5 separate regions of the Homo sapiens genome follow, and all the other regions are linked to region 3. Evidence: promoter capture Hi-C in human tissues and cell types (Jung and others, 2019). All regions are on one chromosome and are shown on one strand. Each heading gives the region's core, a stretch centred on a gene start or on the middle of the fragment in contact. The rest is flanking DNA. Distances are from core to core; before and after follow the strand shown. Region 1 has its middle 540 kb from the start of SLC6A15. Region 2 overlaps LOC107984536 (a long non-coding RNA gene). Region 3 holds the start of TMTC2 (transmembrane O-mannosyltransferase targeting cadherins 2). Region 4 has its middle 670 kb from the start of SLC6A15. Region 5 overlaps LOC107984536 (a long non-coding RNA gene).

The links. Contacts are between HindIII fragments. The study calls those that stand out against the background at their distance.
Region 1: a fragment that was not itself captured here is called in contact with the fragment with the promoter of TMTC2 in region 3 in 1 of the 25 tissues and cell types used here (dorsolateral prefrontal cortex).
Region 2: a fragment that was not itself captured here is called in contact with the fragment with the promoter of TMTC2 in region 3 in 1 of the 25 tissues and cell types used here (mesendoderm cells).
Region 4: a fragment that was not itself captured here is called in contact with the fragment with the promoter of TMTC2 in region 3 in 1 of the 25 tissues and cell types used here (heart right ventricle).
Region 5: a contact is called between a fragment that was not itself captured here and the fragment with the promoter of TMTC2 in region 3, in 1 of the 25 tissues and cell types used here (lymphoblastoid cells).

What each region holds. Positions count from the first base shown.
Region 1 is chr12:84,372,598-84,376,730 of GRCh38, reverse strand. No RefSeq gene overlaps it. Among named protein-coding and RNA genes, the nearest start is that of SLC6A15, 540 kb to the left of the region's middle. The HindIII fragment of the contact is 3,472 bases long and covers 748-4,133 here.
Region 2 is chr12:84,088,113-84,091,956 of GRCh38, reverse strand. The region is part of intron 1 of LOC107984536 (a long non-coding RNA gene); the gene reads left to right. Among named protein-coding and RNA genes, the nearest start is that of SLC6A15, 820 kb to the left of the region's middle. The HindIII fragment of the contact is 4,144 bases long and covers 1-3,441 here.
Region 3 is chr12:82,685,402-82,689,148 of GRCh38, reverse strand. It overlaps TMTC2 (transmembrane O-mannosyltransferase targeting cadherins 2), which reads right to left and starts at 2,243. Exons shown (of 12, transcript NM_152588.3): 1 at 1,480-2,243. The coding sequence starts at 1,562. RefSeq lists silencers at 1,223-1,282, 1,643-1,692, 2,263-2,362, 3,213-3,292 and enhancers at 2,403-2,612, 2,633-2,782. The HindIII fragment of the contact is 7,716 bases long and covers 1-3,747 here.
Region 4 is chr12:84,239,988-84,244,092 of GRCh38, reverse strand. No RefSeq gene overlaps it. Among named protein-coding and RNA genes, the nearest start is that of SLC6A15, 670 kb to the left of the region's middle. The HindIII fragment of the contact is 3,424 bases long and covers 182-3,605 here.
Region 5 is chr12:84,123,881-84,127,835 of GRCh38, reverse strand. The region is part of intron 1 of LOC107984536 (a long non-coding RNA gene); the gene reads left to right. Among named protein-coding and RNA genes, the nearest start is that of SLC6A15, 790 kb to the left of the region's middle. The HindIII fragment of the contact is 3,410 bases long and covers 1-3,278 here.

The DNA of each region.
Region 1 (4,133 bases), core at 1,234-3,733, 1.7 Mb before region 3:
TAGTTCAAAGTCCTGACAGAGGATCCAAAAATGTTGGAATTTTGAGAGAATCCACGTCTTTTTCCATGAACCAAGTTTTAAATCAACCAAGAATGACACTAACATGATGAACATAGGTTCAGGAGGTTAACTTAAAATTATGTTGTGGTCACTTTAAATAATGTTTCCTTTTAGTAATATAATTAAAACAGTAGTCATAATGGCAATTGAAGTGCAATAAAATGAGAGTGGAATTACCATTGTGGTTGAACTGCAGATGTGTTTATATTTGATAATAAACAGAGATTTCTATAAGCCTGAATTGATTAAATGATTATAAAAATAATTTCCCATAAAATCAGTCATTTCATTTTAATCACTGTCTGTAAGCTCATTCTGGAGAAAAGCTTTTAATATATATCATCATTTCTTAGCCATTGCTTAGAAAATAAATGTAGCTCATGTATTTAAGTATTTTCAGAAAATGCAATTTCGAAGCAAATAAAAACTCATGGCTTTAGAAAAACAAAAGGGTTTGTATGACCATTTACCAAAAAATAGAAAACATAACTTTCTAAAATCAAATAACATCTATGATTTTGTGTCATCCATTCCAATTTTTAAAAAATTATCTTAAAAATATTACAGCATATTTTGGCTGATATAAAATCTCAAATCTCAAAGGTATACTTTATTCACGTTACTTTTTTGTTTGTTCAATCACCATGGCTACTCATATTCAACTCTTAACACCTGCAAGTGAATCAAAGCCAACTTTTAAGATGTTTTGGCATCTTACATCTTCATAGGGGAAAAGAGAAAGTAAAACTCTTTTTTTCCTGACCTTAAATTACAATTTACATCAATAATAGCATCAGATAGCCAAGCTATATTTTTTTCCTGGTCTATTTCAATTTCAATGATTCTTATCTTCATGAGACTCTACTTACAAAGATAAGTTGAATGTGCATATAAAGGCAAATAATTTTGCTAGTGCTTCAGGACCCATTTGCTGATTTAACTGTAATAAACTGTGGCATATCTTTTATGATTACTTACACTAGATGGCTGAGTAATGCCTCATCATATATTCCTGAACTGTTTAAGTAATCATGTCTGCTATTGTAAGCTTTATCTGAGACTAATGGACTGCAATGTGAGTTATGAGCCCTCAACTGAAGGTTTTGCTAGAATATGAGACTTAACTTTCTTGCCACAAAGGTTACATGATATGTGAACATTATAAAAATATGTGTGTATGAACACATGACTATTGGCTGATAACCTTGGCTTCTTTTCTGATTGAGTAAAGAAAAAAGAAAGCACCTCATATAGTAATAAAAAAGTTTATAAGTTTTACTCATCAATAACAGAAAACATCTTTTTTTTTGGAAAATAAATGAATTTAGTTGATTACTTAAAATCAAAAGCTTGAGAAATTTGGCATTATTTTTTAATTATATGAATATTTATTTAAACAAGTCCGGAAATACTATTCATTCATATTTTTGCATCCCTGGTTTTTAGTGCCTAAAAACTGAGAATTTTGTCAAAATTTCTATATTATTCAAAAACACATTTATTCAAGTGTGTCCCTACAGCACCTTAGGAGACTTGAAAATTTTTTAACAACTGTTAAAACCAAACTAGTGTATTTGATCAAAGGCATCTGATTCTAGTAACTATATACAAAACGAGGTAAAAAATGAATAAATAATTTTACTCTCATTAGACATAACCATTTTGATGTCTGTAGTGTTTATCAAGTCTGACCGCTTTAATGACCTTAAGGTAAAGGTTTCGACAGTGTACTGTAATTGACTAACACGCATAATAGTAGAAGAGCAAAGCAAGGGGTAGAAGTAGCATTCAAAATCGCTAAATATAATATTTTTTATCCTAAAAACAACATACTTCTTATATAGTGGGCTGCAGTTAAAGAGGATTTAGGGATATTCTCTGTTTTGAAATAAAATTGGAAAAAAAATTAGAGTGACCATTGAAAAGGTCAGGATAATGGCTTTTTTGAATTGTATATATTTTACAAAGTGGAAAGTCAGGAAGACATTAATAGTGATACAATAAATTTGTTATTGAGAATGGTCTACATAAAATTTATAACCATGAAAAATAGCATTTTTTAATGACAGATTGAATAAATGTGTTAGATGTTAAGGACATATTTATCATGCTCTAAAAAAAGTTTAATTTAAATATTTTTACATATTTACATATTTCTTTCTCAATTGAATTTTAGCATAAAACTGAATTATACGTAATATAGAGAGAAGGAATTCATTTGAGGGCAGGAGAGGTATTTTACGTTCGTGTAACTGAGGATGGAACACATTATTGTGCACTTTCCTAAGGAGACTACAAAGAATTCTCATATCACTAAGGAATGAAAAAGGGATGCTATGACAATTAACTAGTTTGCCTACCATTCAACTTCTCTAATGTTCAAAAAATTTGTCACAGAGGACTACAAACTAAAGGAAATTGAAAATATTCATCTACTTTACTTTTAAAAATTTCCACCTATGCCAAGAGTATAAAATTATTATAAATTTAGATAACTTGTTTCAGCAATAGACCTTAAAATGTGTCTCAGAAAAATAGGAGTGGTGAGAGACGGCATCCCTGTCTTGTGCCAGTTTTCAAAGGGAATGCTTCCAGTTTTTGCCCATTCAGTATGACATTGGCTGTGGGTTTGTCATAAATAGCTCTTATTATTTTGAGATACGTCCCATTAATACTTAATTTATTGAGAGTTTTTAGCATGAAGCGCTGTTGAATTTTGTCAAAGGCCTTTTCTGTATCTATTGAGATAATCATGTGATTTTTGTCTTTGGTTCTGTTTATATGCTGGATTACATTTATTGATTTGCGTATGTTGAACCAGCCTTGCATCCCAGGGATGAAGCCCTCTTGATCATGGTGGATAAGATTTTTGATGTGCTGCTGGATTCAGTTTGCCAGTATTTTATTGAGGATTTTTGCATCGATGTTCATCAGGGATATTGGTCTAAAATTCTCTTTTTTAGTTGTGTCTCTGCCCGGCTTTGGTATCAGGATGATGCTGGCCTCATAAAATGAGTTAGGGAGGATTCCCTCTTTTTCTATTGATTGGAATAGTTTCAGAAGGAATGGTACCAGCTCCTCCTTGCACTTCTGGTAGAATTCAGCTGTGAATCCATCTGGTCCTGGACTTTTTTTGGTTGGTAAGCTATTAATTATTGCCTCAATTTCAGAGCCTGTTATTCGTCTATTCAGGGATTCAACTTCTTCTTGGTTTAGTCTTGGGAGGGTGTATGTGTTGAGGAATTTATCCATTTCTTCTAGATTTTCTAGTTTATTTGCGTAGAGGTGTTTATAGTATTCTCTGATGGTAATTTGTATTTCTCTGGGATCAGTGGTGATATTCCCTTTATCATTTTTTATTGTGTCTATTTGATTCTTCTCTCTTTTCTTCTTTATAAGTCTGCTAGCAGTCTATCAATTTTGTTGATCTTTTCAAAAAACCAGATCCTGGATTCATTGATTTTTTTGAAAGGTTTTTTGTTTCTCTATCTCCTTCAGTTCTTTTCTGATCTTAGTTATTTCTTGCCTTCTGCTAGCTTTTGAATGTGTTTGCTCTTGCTTCTCTAGTTCTTTTAATTGTGATGTTAGGGTGTCAATTTTAGATCTTTCCTGCTTTCTCTTGTGGGCACTTAGTGCTATAAATTTCCCTCTACACACTGCTTTAAATGTGTCCCAGAGATTCCGGTATGTTATGTGTTTGTTCTCATTGGTTTGAAAGAACATCTTTATTTCTGCCTTCATTTCGTTATGTACCCAGTAGTCATTCAGGAGCAGGTTGTTCAGTTTCCATGTAGTTGAGCGGTTTTGAGTGAGTTTCTTAATCCTGAGTTCTAGTTTGATTGCACTGTGGTCTGAGAGACAATTTGTCATAATTTCTGTTATTTTACATTTGCTGAGGAGTGCTTTACTTCCAACTATGTGGTCAATTTTGGAATAAGTGTGATGCGGTGCTGAAAAGAATGTGTATTCTGTTGATTTGGGGTGGAGAGTTCTGTAGATGTCTATTAGGTCTGCCTGGTGCAGAACTGAGTTCCATTCCTGGATATCCTTGTTAACTTTCTGTCTCGTTGATC
Region 2 (3,844 bases), core at 120-2,619, 1.4 Mb before region 3:
AAGTTTTCTGGTGCAGCCACATACCCTCATCTAAACACCAACGCCCAACAGGGAAGCTGCTCATGGCACACCCAGTTCAGCCACGGGCTGGATGCAGATCCTGTGGCAGGCGTGGGATCCAGACTGGGGCATGAGCCAAGCACAGCCTGCCTGGCCAAGCAGGCAGAGCAAGCTTGGTAGCCATGAGCAAGTCCCTGGGCAGAGGACACTGTGTCCACAGGGGTTTCCACTTGGTGAAGTGGCCCCAAAGGAGTCCTGTAACAGTATTATTGTAACTTTGGGTTGTAACTTCACATTATGATTTTCACAATATTTAGGAGACTAATAAACCAAAAAAAGTAGTTTAAGGTTTTTGGCATACAATGTATAAAGATGTAATTTTGTGACATCAACAGCTAAAAGGGCTGGGAAAAAAGAGCTTATAAACAATCAGAGGCTTTGAGGTTAAACTAGTATAAACTCAAATTAAAGTATTATAACTTCAAAATGTTAAATGCAATCTTCATGGTACTCACAAAGAAAATAGATAAATAATATACACAAAATGAAATGAGAAATAAATTTAAATGTTTCAGTACAAAAAATCAAACACAAAAGAAGGCAGTAATGCAGGACATAAGGGACAAAAAAGCTATAAGGCTTATAGAAAACAAATAGCATAGTGATAGAAGTAAGTCCCTCCTTACCAGCCATTACTTTTAAACAGCAATTAATTTAAACTCTTCAGTCAAAAGACAGAGACTGGCAGAATTAGTTTAAAAATTATCCAACTATATACTGTCTATAAAAGATTTATCTTAGAGACAAAGACACATATAGCTTGAAAGTTAAAAATACAAAGAGAAAATGAATATTCCATGGAAATATTAATCACCAGAGAGCAGGGGTAGCTGCATTAATGTCAAACAAAATAGATTATAAATTTTAAAAAAGTTGGCCGGGCGCGGTGGCTCACGCCTGTAATCCCAGCACTTTGGGAGGCCGAGGCGGGTGGATCATGAGGTCAGGAGATCGAGACCATCCTGGCTAACAAGGTGAAACCCCGTCTCTACTAAAAATACAAAAAATTAGCCGGGCGCGGTGGCGGGCGCCTGTAGTCCCAGCTACTCGGGAGGCTGAGGCAGGAGAATGGCGTGAACCCGGGAAGCGGAGCTTGCAGTGAGCCGAGATTGCGCCACTGCAGTCCGCAGTCCGACCTGGGCGACAGAGCGAGACTCCGTCTCAAAAAAAAAAAAAAAAAAAAAAAAAGTTACAAGACAAAAAAGACATTATATGTTAATAAAATTTTCAATATAGCAAGAAGATTAACACTTATATACACACGTGCATAGTAAGAAATCATCAAAATATATAAGGCAAAAGTTGATGAAGTTGAAGGAAGAAATAGAAACTCCCATAATAATAGTCAGCTACTTCAATAACCCACTCTCAGTAATGGATAGAATAACCAGACATAAGATAAATAAGGAAATAGAAGCTTTAGACAAAATAATAAACCATGTAAATCTAACAGACACATAGAAAACACTGTATCCAACAACAATAGAATATACATTCTTCTCAAGTGCACATAGGAACATGGGACATATTCCAGGATAGATCATACATTAGGCCACAGATTAAGTCTTAATAATTTAAAAAAGATATATTTCATACAAGATATCTTCTGTGACCACAATGCTACAAAGTTAGAAATCAATAACAGAAGGAAACAGAAAAATTCACAATTTGGTGGAAATTAAACAATATACTATAAAACAACCAGCATATTAAAGAATAAATCCTAAGAAAATTAGAAAATATGTAGAGAAAGATAAAAATGAAGACACAACAAAACAAAACTATTGGGACACAGGTAGTGCTAAGAGATAAAATTTAATTATAAATGCCTACAGTAAAATATAAGAAAGATTTCAAATCAAAAACCTAACTTTAGAATTTAAATAACTAGAAAAATAAAAACAAAGTCCAAATATACTAGAAGAAAGAAAATAATAAAGAGCATAGATATATAGAGATGAAAAAATAATACAGAAAATCATTAAAACAAAAAGTTGTTTTCTTGAAAAATTAAACAAAATAGATAAACCTTTATATGGACTCAAAGAGAAGATTCGATTACTCAAAAATTTAAAATGTGGACTTACTGCTGATCCTACATAAATAAAAAATATATGCAATACTATGAGCAATTTTCTGCCAATAATTTGGATAACACAGATGAAATGAACCAAATACTGGAAGCACAAACTTATCAAGATTCAACCATGGGAACTAGAAAATATGAATAGATGTATAACTAGTAAGAAGATTGAATTAGTAATCAAAAATCTCGCAAGAACATAACAAAAATCCTGGATGTGAAATCTTCACCAGTAAATTCTTCCAAATACTTGAAGAAATAACACCAACCCTTCTGAAACGTTTCCAAAAAAAGTAAAGAGGAGGGAACACGTCCTAGCTCATTCCGTAAGGCATGCAATAACCTAAAACCAAAGCCAAACAATGATAAAATAAAACTACAAGCCAATACTCCTTATAAAAACTGATGCAAAACTCTTCAACAAAATCTTAGTAAGCCAAATTCAGCAGCATATTAAAAAGTTATGCACTATGACTAAATGAAATTTATTCCTGAATACAAAAATGGTTTAACATGTGAAAAATGATCAACATTATACACCACATTAAAATAATTAATGAAACAAAGTCACATGATCATCTCAATGCAGAAAAAATAATTTTATAAAATTCAACACACTTTCATGATGAAAACACTCAACATAGTAAGAATAGAAGAAAAATACTTGAACATAATAGAAACTATGTATAAGAAAACCTCCAGTGGACATCATACTCAGTGGTGAAATACTGAAAGCTTTACCCTTATGATCAGGAACAAGGCAAGTATGTCTACTTTCACCACTTCTAGTCAACATAGTACTGGAAGTCCTAGCCAGAGCAACTAGAAAGGAAAAATAAATAATGGAGTTAGAATTGGAAAAGAAGTGAATTATTTCTGTTTACAGATGGTTTGATCTAATATGCAGAAAATATTAAATATTGTTTTAAAGTTAACTAGTTTCAGCAAAGCAACAGGATACAAAATCAACACACAAAAATCAGTTATGTTTTGATCCACTAACAATTAACAGTATGAAAAATAAATTAAATCATTATTTTCAATAAAATAAAAAGAATAAATACTTAGAAATTAGTTTAATCAACAAGGTAAAAGATTTGTGCAATGAAAACTACAAAGTATTTCTGAAAGAAATTAAAGAAGATATAAATAAATGGAAAGATATTCCATGCTCCTGGATTGGAAGACAATATTATGAAAATTTAGGCTATGGATCCATTTTGAGTTTTTTTTTTTAATATAGTATTAGGGAAGAGTCCAACTTGATTATTTTGCATGTCACTATCTGTTTTTTCCAGCACCGTTTGTTGAAAAGACTTTGTTCCATTAGTCTTGGCAACATTGCTAAAAATAATTTAGCCATATATGTGAGAGTAATAACCAAAGTAATCCCTAATATTTAATGTAATCCTTATCAAAATTCCAGTGACATTGTTTACAGAAATAGAAAAACCTAAATTTCATCTTACATAATTTTAACAAACCCTAAATAGCCAATTCTTGAAGAGAAAAACAAAGCTGGAGGACTCACATTTCCTAATTTCAAGCTCACAAAACTACAGTACTTAAAACAGTGGAGTACTGGAATAAAGAAAGACATGTAGACTAACTAAATGTAATAAAGTCCAGGAATATACCCTCTTACATACGGCCAAATTATTTCCAACAATGTTGTCAAGAATAGTTTATGGAAAAAATATT
Region 3 (3,747 bases), core at 994-3,493:
CACCATTACACAAAATTGGAGAGAACAGAAATTTACCTCACTCCTACAGACCATTTCTCAGAGCATGCTGTGTAGTTGCTAAAATCAGTATGCTGCGTAAAAGTTAAGAAAAAATGTATGTCTAACAGTGGTTCCCTATCAACTAGCCTCTGGTAGGCACTACATAAAATGCATTAAGACGGGTTTGCTGGATGTTCTGGCACCTATTATCAGGTGATTTTTTAACAGAGATGTGAAGATGCTTTTAGCAGGAGAATGGGCACACCAGAGAATACAGAATGTGGCTAATTACGACGAGAAGAAGATTCTGCCTTCACCTCCCCTCACTGTCAACCACTTTGCGTAAGTGCTCTCACTGCCTCGCCCTAACCCTGGGGATCCATTCACTTTTCATAGCTCAGAGAGGCTGCTGAAAAGCTGTCAAAGTAAATCTGTGCTCACTTTTTGGATGGTTTAATTTCAATGGAGCATGAAACACCCCAGGACGGTTAATAAGTTTAGCCAGGCGTGCTGTTATCCCTAATATATTTTAATTATGCATCTGTTTTAATTGTAATCAGATTAAGACACCGGAAGGACACAAATTGGAATTTTCCCTAATGGATATAGGGGCTTTTCATCACTTTCTGAACACTAATAACGTTTAAAAGATAGGAAGAGACACCAACACAACGGTGACATTTTCCAGAAATCGATGCAGTTTCTTTGACAACACAGTTCAGGTCTCATTAGCCACCCAAACTAACCTAAGTGCAGAAGACAACTTCAGTCTCTAGGGGCGTCTTCTTCTCCAATTAGTACAAAAGAACCACTAACATCTAATGTACAACTCCCAAACAGAAATGAGAAAGCCGAGGCTTTTATAAAGTGCTGCCCAATGGATTGGTGAAGGAGGCTAGGGCGGCGGGAGAGACCATCAGCAGCATTATTTTGGCTCAAAGTAAAAGTCTATACACGTTAAAAGGGAAAGTTAAAGCAGAGAACGATCTCCCTTTTCACAATTTTGGCAACTATCAAACGTGTGTTTTAACTTCGGGAAATAAAAGTGTCCCATCAATAAAAGGAAACGGGACAGGGAGGATCTATCAGGGATCGAGGAGAGGCTTCCTCCCAACCAGACGTAAAATCACTTAATGTGCTTTGTTGCATCAAGGAATACCTAAGACTTTAATTTAATACGTTCATTAAACAGTTTCCCAAATTGCCGGGATTTCCGCTAAGAAACTCAAGCGTCTGCCAACAGCCGAGAAGCAAGGGAGAGAACCTGCTGCAAACTAGGAGCGGAAACTCCCTCGGCCCGCCCAGCGCGCCTCACGTCCCCGGTGTTTGATTTAGGTGTTAATGTTTACGTGTCGCCTAAACCATCAGGTGCTGAACCAGTTCCTCCAAGACGCACTTTGAGCCTTAAAGAGGGAAGCTTCAGAGCCACTGCGGAGTGTGCCCCCTGCAGCCCGTCGCCCCCTCCTCTCGGCCCCTTACCTGTCATCATAGCAGAAATCCGCACTCAGGGTGTTGAGATACAAGGCGAGCCCCAGAGCGCTGCTCACCAACTCTGCAATCATCTCTCCACCGCCTTCCCTCCGGCTCGGCTCCCAGCGCGAGGGCAGCAGCGGCAACAAAAAACAGAAGCATCAATCTCCACCTTCCGCCGCCTTCTCCTCCCAGCTTCACTTTTCCCTCGCTTCCCCACCCTCCCTCCCTCGGGTCCTTCCAATCCACGACTCCTCTCCTCCTCCTCGCGCCCGTCTCCGCAGCTCCTGCGTCCTCCCCGGGTGCGGGCTCACACCACACTCCCCATGCCCGGCGCCCGCAAGCGGTGAGCGGCGTTTGGGCTCCGCGTCCCCCGGCGGAAGCGCAGGGCTGGTCTTTCGCGCGGGTCGCGATCCCCACCCTAACCCATGGCAGTTTGGGGCGTCCTAGGTGAGGAGTGGGACTCGGAGGAGGTGGAAGGGTGCGGGATGGGGGCAGAGGGACCGGACCAAGCCGGGCTCTGGGACCAGCTGGAGGAAGAGAGAGAAAGAGGCGCGGGTGGGAGGGACAAGGCGAACCGCCTCCCCTCGCCGCCTCCCGGGCGCACTGCTCCGGTGTCGCTCGGGCGGACTCCGGCCGCCAAGGCAGCTGCTGCACATTCAATGTTTATTAGCTCCCTCCCAGCCCCAGCCCCAGCCCCAGCCCCAGCTCCCTTCTCCAGTGAAGTGAGAAGCGGTGGCTGGAGACTCCAGAAGCTCCCGCGTGGGGTTCTCGACGCGGCCCCCCGCGCCTGCGTGACCAACCCTCCATCCCGGCTTGGCCCAGCCCCTTTCTCCACCCAGATCCTCCCGGAAGGCTCCTCCTACCCTGCCCCTCGGGCTGGAGGCTCCTCCCACCCTCCCCGGCCTGGAGGCTCCTCCTACCAGCCTCCCGTCCTCTTGTTTCTTTCACCTTCGATTTCACTCTGGAAAGCCCCCGGGACCCAAGGGCGACGGCTGGAAGACAGCCCAAAGGAGTAGATACAGTGCACCCTGGGAGGGGAAGCTGGGAGAAAGGAGGTCGAGGAGGAGGTGGTCGGTCGCCCCGCTGCTGCCTGGCAGCGCCTGGCACGGCTGAATCTCAGCCACAGCGCTGTGTGTGCCAAGAGCTGCCAGGCGTAAGTCCGGTCAGCTGGAGAGACTTCTGAGACCGGGAGAGGAAGAACAGGTTTGGCGACTGCTGCAGCTTCGGTTGTCACAAACTCACTGGCGATCTCTCACGCACACTGTGTGTGAGACTAAATGGGGGGGAGGAGGTAGTATTGGAGAGCTTGGAGGCAACTTAGGAAGGAGAGATTTCAGCTCTTAGCCTACGGTTGGCCACAATGTCAGTGGAAAGACGTGTAGGGAGAGAAACGTTTCCTCCTTCAGTAAGGTTAAAAAGAAAGGACCCCAAAAAGGGAAAGAAAGACACACACACACCCCGCAGCAACTGCCCGGGGACCCCTTCGTGGTTTCAGAGGGACTGTCGGGTTGACCCTGAGAACACAGGAGAGAAACCTCTAGTGCAAGCCGGTACAGCATTATACTTAAACCTAGTAAGGCAGTAAGCTAATGCCCTTTCCTTTCCGCTCGGAGGCAGGACTGGATGGAAAGCATCCAACATGGTGAAATATGGTGTAGAATGGTCTGTGTAGAACAAGCTCTGGGTACTAAAGTTGCAAGACCAAAGAGGACCCAGGGCTGCCTGACACGCCTCCTCCCGGCTTGTTGGCTTTCTGGCCAGGAGAGTAGCTCCGGTGCACCGCGATGTACACTACTGCAGCGCCCCCTGCTGCATAGTAACCACAAGGTGTGGAAGACAGGTCTGTTTTGCATGCGGGCCGACTGGTTCCAACCAAGAGCAGCACCTAACCAGCAAGCTCTCCGAAACTGTGGCAAGAAATTGAGCCCCCTGGGTGTCTAGCAGTGGCCTGGAAAGAAAATACCGTGGTCTGGGCTTCTGTAGAACAAAGCTACATATTTCCCTGATTTCACAAGGAAATCTGAGAAATCTGTATTGGATACACACAGATAAAATGATGAATATTTATTAATATTATACCTGTTATGCCATCCACAGTAGCACATTTTTTGTGCCCTGGACAAATATATGTAAACAAAAATAAAAGGAATTATGTCTTTACAGGTAGGGACTGATCTTTTACCCTTTTCCTCCATAACCTTTGCTCACTTGAAAATTTTGAAAATCATATCAGTTAGTCCATCCTGATGCTCTGTGTCTCTCCAATGCACTTAC
Region 4 (4,105 bases), core at 644-3,143, 1.6 Mb before region 3:
AATTGATTTCTCAAAGAACATATAAAAATCTATATTCATTGGCAAGAGAACATATCCTTTTTTAAACTGCATTAGCCCTCTACTTGCTAAGACATTGTTTAAAAAGTAGCCTGACTATTATAAAATCTTTTTCAATTAAAAGCAGTATGCAGCTGGGCTTGGTGGCTCATGCCTGTAATCCCAGCACTTTGGGAAGCTGAGGCGGGCAAATTGCCAGAGGTCAGGAGTTCGACACCAGTCTGGCCAACATGGTGAAAACCCGTCTCTACTAAAAATACACAAGAATTATCTGGGTGTGGTGGTGGGAGCTTGTAATCCCAGCAACTCGGGAGACTGAGGCAGGGGAATTGCTTGAACCAGGGAGGTGGAGGTTGCAGTGAGCTGAGAACACACCACTGCAGTCTAGCCTGGGAGACAGAGCGAGACTCTGAAAAAAAAAAAAAAAAAAAGCAGTATGCAATCTGTAACAAGCTCCCCAGGTATGTAGAAGTTTTCTTTCAGGTGGTAATGGCAACTACAGAAAGAAGCTTTGTGATATGACTAAAACATATGTTAGTCTTTGTTCAAGTCAAAATGAATATTTTCACAGAATACGTTGCCGCATAAGAGAAAAAGTATATAGCAGTAAGATAAATGAATACTAGAATAATTGGAGAAAAATAGTAACTCAAGCGCTTCATCCTAAAAGTAGTGATTGAACATGGATTGATGGAGGAAAGAAGGAACTACACACCATGAGAGATGGAATAATATAGGCAAATATATAGATATATAGTATGAGAAACAGCTTTGATGAGTTTCAAGAGCATAGAGAAGACTGTTCCAGTTAAAAGGCTGGTGGTTCTAATTCAGGAATAAGACAATTATAAAATTGTATAATTACCAGCATTTGTATAATGCTTTTGTTTTCAAAGCAATTTCCATTACATTTATCACAAATTATTTTCAAAATGACCTTGTTTAGTAATCATACTAAGCATTGCTATAATTTCTACAAAAGCTATGTAAGACAGATTATGAGGGTTATCGGCAAATTCATTGTGCTGTGTTTAAAACATACTTATATAAATATAACAAATGTGAGGAGTTTGAACTTTTAAAACACTGAATGGTATGAGGAAGACCCACATGCTTTTGAACGAAATCACAAAAATTACAATGGAAAGACTGCATTATTGCAATTTCAAGAGTTTGATTTCACCCAAAATTCAACATGCCTGAAATATAACCTTGCTTCTTATAGATATGAGATATAATGTCTTACGTTAAAAATAATAGCCCTGAAATTCTTCTTGAAAACTTTTCTAGATTTAAAGTAAGTTATGATAGAATTATTTTCCCTCTATTTTATGTTTTTTCATAGAAGTGAGACTTGTAATTTTAAGTTTATATTTACCTGTTAAAAGAAGAAGAAAGAAGTTAGGTCATAATAATCTATATTTTTCTGAAAAACTGTGACCAAATAATTCATGTTGTGACAACCCGTACAACAGACATCATAAAGGGATGTTTGGAAGCCCTTCTGTGAGTATCTACAACCTTAATTAGATTTTTAAACAGAATCTGAGCCATCAGTTACTGAGGGTTTGAAAAATGTTATGAATGCATCTCTTATTCTTATATACACACATGCAAAGATATTTGTGCAATGCCTATTTAAAGCTATATAATTTTGAAAATAATATAGGGAAAATCAGTACTATAAATTGTATTTCATCTCTCCGAAATTCATATGTTGAAGTCTTACCTTACTCCTGATGTGATAATGGTATTTAGAAATGGGGCCTTTAGGCTGGGCACTGTGGCTCACGCCTGTAATCCCAGCGCTTTGGGAGGCCGAGGCGGGCAGATCACGAGGTCAGGAGATTGAGACCATCCTGGCCAACATGGTGAAACCCCGTCTTTACTAAAAATACAAAAATTAGCTGGTTGTGGTGGTGCTCGCCTGTAGTCCCAGCTACTCAGGAGGCTGAGGCAGGAGAATCGCTTGAACCCAGGAGGTGGAGGTTGCAGTGAGCCAAGATCACGCCACTGCACTCCAGCCTGGCAACAGAGCAAGACTCTGCAAAAAAAAAAAAAAAAAAAAAAGAAAAAGAAAAAGAAATGGGGCCTTTAAGAGATAATTAGAGTTAGATTTAGATGTGGTTATAAAGGTGAAGACCTCATAATGGGACTCAGTGCCCTTATAAGAACTGGAAGAGACACAAGAGCTCTACCATGTGAAGACGATGAGAAGGCTGGCATTTGCTAGTCATGAAGAGTCCTCACCAGGACCCAAATCTGCTGGCACCTTAATCTTGAACTTCCTAGTCTCTAGAACTGTTAGAAATAAGTGTCCATTGTTTAAACCACCCCAAACCACCCAATCTATGGTATTTTATTAGAGCATTTTGAATTGACTGATATTGTCAGGCAAAGTAGAATGAAATTGGTTTCAGGAGGATCAAAACGACATCTGTGAAAAATGACTTTCTGAATATCACAGAATACTTGCACAAGTGAGTAACTTAAAATGATAATATACAATGTTATTATAATTGTTCACTAGTAATATGTGGATTTAGTGAATAAATTATTTCAAGTTTTAAACAACTTATTTCCTGATACCAGTTTTTTGCAAAGGCAAATGGTAATTACAAAATAAGAACTCTAAATAGCTTCTTATAAATCATGCAAGAATTTCAAGTTCTTGAATACCACTATTTGATCATTGTTTAGTGTTTTACTTTCTCTGTATTCTGTATAATGTATAATATTAAATAGCTTATGTCATTCTAAGAAATAAGCTATTTTGTAGGAAATATTAGTGCAGTTAGACATCTGACTATAATAACACTTTTTGGCAATACTCTTGTGAATAATTCAGTAACTAACAGCTTACTAACCTGAAAGAGATATTTTCTTAAAAATTGAAAACTGAACAAGATTTATGCTCTTTTTTGCATCACATTTATTTTTATTAAATAAATGCAATAATTGCATGGCTTTTATCATTTAGAAAAACATTTCTCAACTTAAGAATTCCAATTATGCTGCAGTAAGACCCTCCTAAAGAACCTTCACCATGGAAACAACTATAAAGCCATCATATATTAGGAAACAACCTGAAGACTTTAGATATTAATAGAAGCAGGCAGATACTGGAGAATAGTATACTCTTAGAGGAGAAAAGCAGTATAAAGTTATCTCCTCATTTCTGTGGCTTTTATCCTGGAACTAATTGCATTTTCAGTGTCAGGAGTATCACTGGTAGAAAAACCTGTAATCTAAGTTGGGGAAACAGAAGACTGTTGGCAGAAGACCATCATAACAATAATTGTGGGAAACTCAAAAAGAAAAGAGGCAGAGAAAAGATGCCCAAATTATGTCTTCCTATATTTTTCACTGATATCTGAGCCGTGCATACATAGAACAGACTCAGAGTAGTTCACCTAGAGGCAAAAATTCTGAACTGTTGCTGAAGCTGCCTTTTGTGAAAATAGTTTATAGTTTAAGCATAAGCAAGAAAATCACCTGAAAAAATAAAAGAAACAAAATCATCAGAGAAATATGTGAACCCAAATAATTATAACTTAATATTCATAATGTCCAAAACACAATCTAAAACTACATGACACACAAAGAATCATGAAAATGGCATGCATTTCCAAGAGAAAAGAAAAAACATAGTCTGCATAAAGGTAAACTATATATTCAAACTATCAAATAAAAGTTTTAAAGCAACTATTATTAGTGTATTCAATGATGTAATATCAAATAGGCTCATTAAATGAAAGAAATATATAAACTCTCAGGAGAAATAGAAATGATAAAAAGGACAAGATAGAAATTCTAGATAGACTGGATTAAATAATATAGGAAAGAAAATCACTCTGGAGTCTTAACATCCAATGAAAGATGACAATTACATTTTAAATGAAGTAGAAAATAGATTAATAGAAAATATTCCAGGTAAATAACAGAGGGAGAAAAACAGTCTCATCAACTTTTAATGTAATATCAGACACACGTGTAATTAAAATTTTAAAAGGATAGTAGAGAGAGATCAAAGCAAAAAAATTTAGAAAATAATAGATAAAATATTCCCAAACTATAAGAAAGTTAT
Region 5 (3,955 bases), core at 324-2,823, 1.4 Mb before region 3:
GGTGGGTAAAGTTTGACTTAACTGATTTCTACATTTCTTTTCTCTATGTTTCTGCCTCTTCTTGTTTCCTTTCTTTCTAAAGCCATCCCAGGACAACTATCTATGATAGACCTCTACCAAAGATAGCTTTTTCAAGATGAGTGCACCTGTTCCAAATCACGTCAAGCAAAATTTCCTTTTTCTTTAAGTCTGGCTGATACTAAAGATTCTCTAGGTTGGAATTGCTTCCTAAACGTCCCCACTGGCATTTCCATTTCAAATTTGTATACAAGAATAGACAGATGAAAAGTAATAAATCTGAAGTGGTGAAAATTCCATCATTCTGATAAACAGATGGAAAAGATACTATACGATGGGTGGATAATTTCCAATATGTCCTTAATTACTCAAAGTGTGGTTTATGGACCAGCAACATCAGCAGCATCTGGAAACATGTTAGAAATGCCAAATCCCAGTCTCTAGCTCAGAACAACTGAGTCAGAATCTTGTATTTTAATAAAATTTTCAGGTGCTGCATACACAATAAAGTTTAAAAAGTGCTGCTTAAATTCCATTATATGGGTGAACTATTTCTTTACAGTTTAGAATAATCGTGCTAAAAATGCCCTCTCACTTAAGCAAGGGCATGCATAGAATTATGATGTCTCCTAAGGTGCAATTTCAGAATCATTATTTATACTAAGGATTGGAATCCAGGCAGGCTGAGATCTAACTATTTGAATAACCAGTCAGCCACTATACCATGATTGCTTTTATAAAGCTTTAGTTTCTAAATTGTCAAACTATCACATGTATCAAAACCTAGAATTCTATCTCCCAATTACTATTCTGTATCATCTGAAGAACCAAACAAAAACATTTTTTTTTCAAATAGTTCCAGACCTTTTCCATATATTACTTATATATGAAGTATTTTTTTAAGATTTTATTGTTTCATATAAACAGCCCTGTTATCCTGCTTGAATGAACTTTTTGATGTTTTCACATTTCATCTGATTGAGAAGTCACACATATTCCATGAAACAATCTAAAATTTTAATTGAACCATTGAACCACTCATTACAGTAAGAAAATTTTGTTATATTTAAGATGATTGATCATCTGTATTAATCAATTTCATGTTCCAGATTTTTTTTTTTTTTGAGACAGAGTCTTGCTTTGTCACCCAAGCTGGAGTGCAATGGCATGATCTCAGCTGACTGCAACCTCCACCTCCCAGATTGAAGTGACGCTTCTGCTGCTTCTGCCTCAGCCTCCTGAGTAGCTGAGACTACAGGCACGCACCACCATGCTCGCCTAATTTTTGTATTTTTAGTAGAGAAAGGGTTTTGCTATGTTGGCCAGGCTGGTCTTGAACTCCTGACCTCAGGTGATCTGCCTGCCTCAGCCTCCCAAAGTGCTAGGATCCAGATATTTTTCTAAGAACTGCATATGCATGAAATCTGAGTTATTTCTGACACTGATGAGTTATAAACTATTATTGACCTTGTTTTACTGTTAGGTAAACTGAGGCTTAGAAAATTGAAATTATATTTTAAAGATAATAGTTCAGCTAGAAATGGAAGTCAGACCATTTATGTAACAGCACATATTCAATATTTGATAACAAAATGCTTTTAATCAAATAGAGGCTCCAACTCTTAAAACCTCAGTTAAAAAACAAACATTAAAGAAATTCTTATGGAACTTGAGGAAGTACTAATTATTTTATCAGATTAGGGTAAAATACTTTAAAAGATAAACAAAATAAATGGAAGGAATAAATTAAAATAAAAGGAGATATTAATAAACCTCACCTCAGAGGTTGATTATGAAGAAAAATAATTTAATGCATGTAAAATATTTAGAAAAGCATCTGAAAAAAATGTAAGCCTTAAATACATTGTCATAATTCTTGCTATTTCAATTATTATTACCACTGCACCAATCTCACTGTGTATGTACTATACCAATCTCATTAAATAGTAAATGTACAACATCCCTCCCTGTTACATAGTAGATATTCTAAATTTGATTTCTTTCTCCTCTCCTAAAAGAAAATTGTAATATTTCAAGATACACAATAAAGTTAGTGTTTAAAAATAAAATAAATCATATTACATTTAAATTTATTCCTTAATATTTATACTATTATAATTTTTATCTTTTAGTCACCTTTTTCATATATACATGTGATGTTTTAGTCAAAGAACAATTATAACTTATAAATAAGAGTACATATAATATCACTGATTATTGCTTGAATCTAATATGAACAAAGTAGAAGCTTTTTAAGATTTATTTTCAAAAATAATATTAAATGTTAAGAAATATTAATACACACAATTCTAAGATACTTGTAATGTCTTTTATCATAAGCATTCAATTCTTCCATGAAATGGAAAATCCAAAAATACAATCAACAGAATGAAATAACATATTAAGTTAATGTGAGTTTCTAAGTGATTTTGGTTTTGTGTGTAATGGCAAGAGAATGGAGAAAAAGGAAAGCTTTAGAGTATTGTAATTCAGCAGCCCTGTGGAAAATATTTATATGACAAAATGCAATATATTCACATCCAGATCCATCACAGATAACAATAGCTCCCTGAGAGAATGCTACTCTCTCTTTCATATTAATACCGAGGTAGCTCTTTTTTTCCCTGTCATTTTAAATCACTGAATGGAAACTTAATGGGTTTTTATTGCCTTTGCTGACTGAATAATACCAAAATTCATTTGTGTAGCTCAAAATTTAAGTAAATATTTAAAATTTAAAAGTGAGTTAATTTAATTAAAGGTAAAAATAGTATTGGGTGATATATGCATATTTAGAATATGCTATGCAATACTAAAACTTATAAAAATGCTAAATTTTGCCAGGGTTTTTTTTTTTTTTTTAGACGCAGTCTTGCTCTGTCACCCACCCAGGCTGGAGTGCAGTGGCGCAATCTTGGCTCACTGCAAGCTCCGCCTCCCGGGTTCACGCCATTCTCCTGCCTCAGCCTCCGGAGTAGCTGGGACTACAGGCGCCCGCCACCACGCCCGGCTAATTGTTTGTAATTTTAGTAGAGACGGGGTTTCACCGTGTTACCCAGGATAGTCTTGATCTCCTGACCTCGTGATCCTCCCGCCTCGGCCTCCTAAAGTGCTGGGATTACAGGCGTGAGTCACCACGCCCGGCCAACAGGGCTTATTTTTAAGTATATGAAACCATCCATTTTTGATGACTGAATGTGGATGAAGGGGGAATTTGAAAGTGTTTAGTGTTTCTATGGTTCCAGCAAAAAGATCTGGAAAAATCACCCTTAATTTTTTACAACCAAAATCCCTATTAAATACCATTCTAGTAATGAATATCAGCACAGTTTTAGAGAAATAAAAACACATTTAAATTACAAATGGACAATATGAGTCATTGTCAATTGAAAGGCATTTAAGCAACCCTCAGATAAACCAAATTCCAGTCAGTCTATTACATCTCCAACACTGTGCTAAACATTATAAACTAATTCTTGCCTGAAAATTATACAACATGAATATTAAAAGCAAGCATAAATTTAGGGAACATTTAGAAACAAATAATATAACACATTGTTTTGTAAAAAGTATAATGGCAAACTTGATCATCCAAAATATTATGCGGAAACTCAATTACCAAAACTGAGTTTAAAAATAGAAAGGAGAAAAGAGAGAGACAGAGAGAGACAGACAGACAGACAAATGGATAAATGCTTGGGCTGAAGTGACAGTGAGGAATTTGGAGCTAACTCAAAAACATCATTTAACTTTTGGGAACATTACCCCAAATTTCTTCTATACATGCCCTGTGGTAGACACACCAAAAACGTAAGGGGAAGCAGAATACCATTTGAATTCCACTGGAGAAGAAATCTATTCTAGAAATGAGAAACTAAATAATTAAGGGTCCCTACTGTAGAGAAAATACAAAACATGATAAAGAAGAATAGAGTCT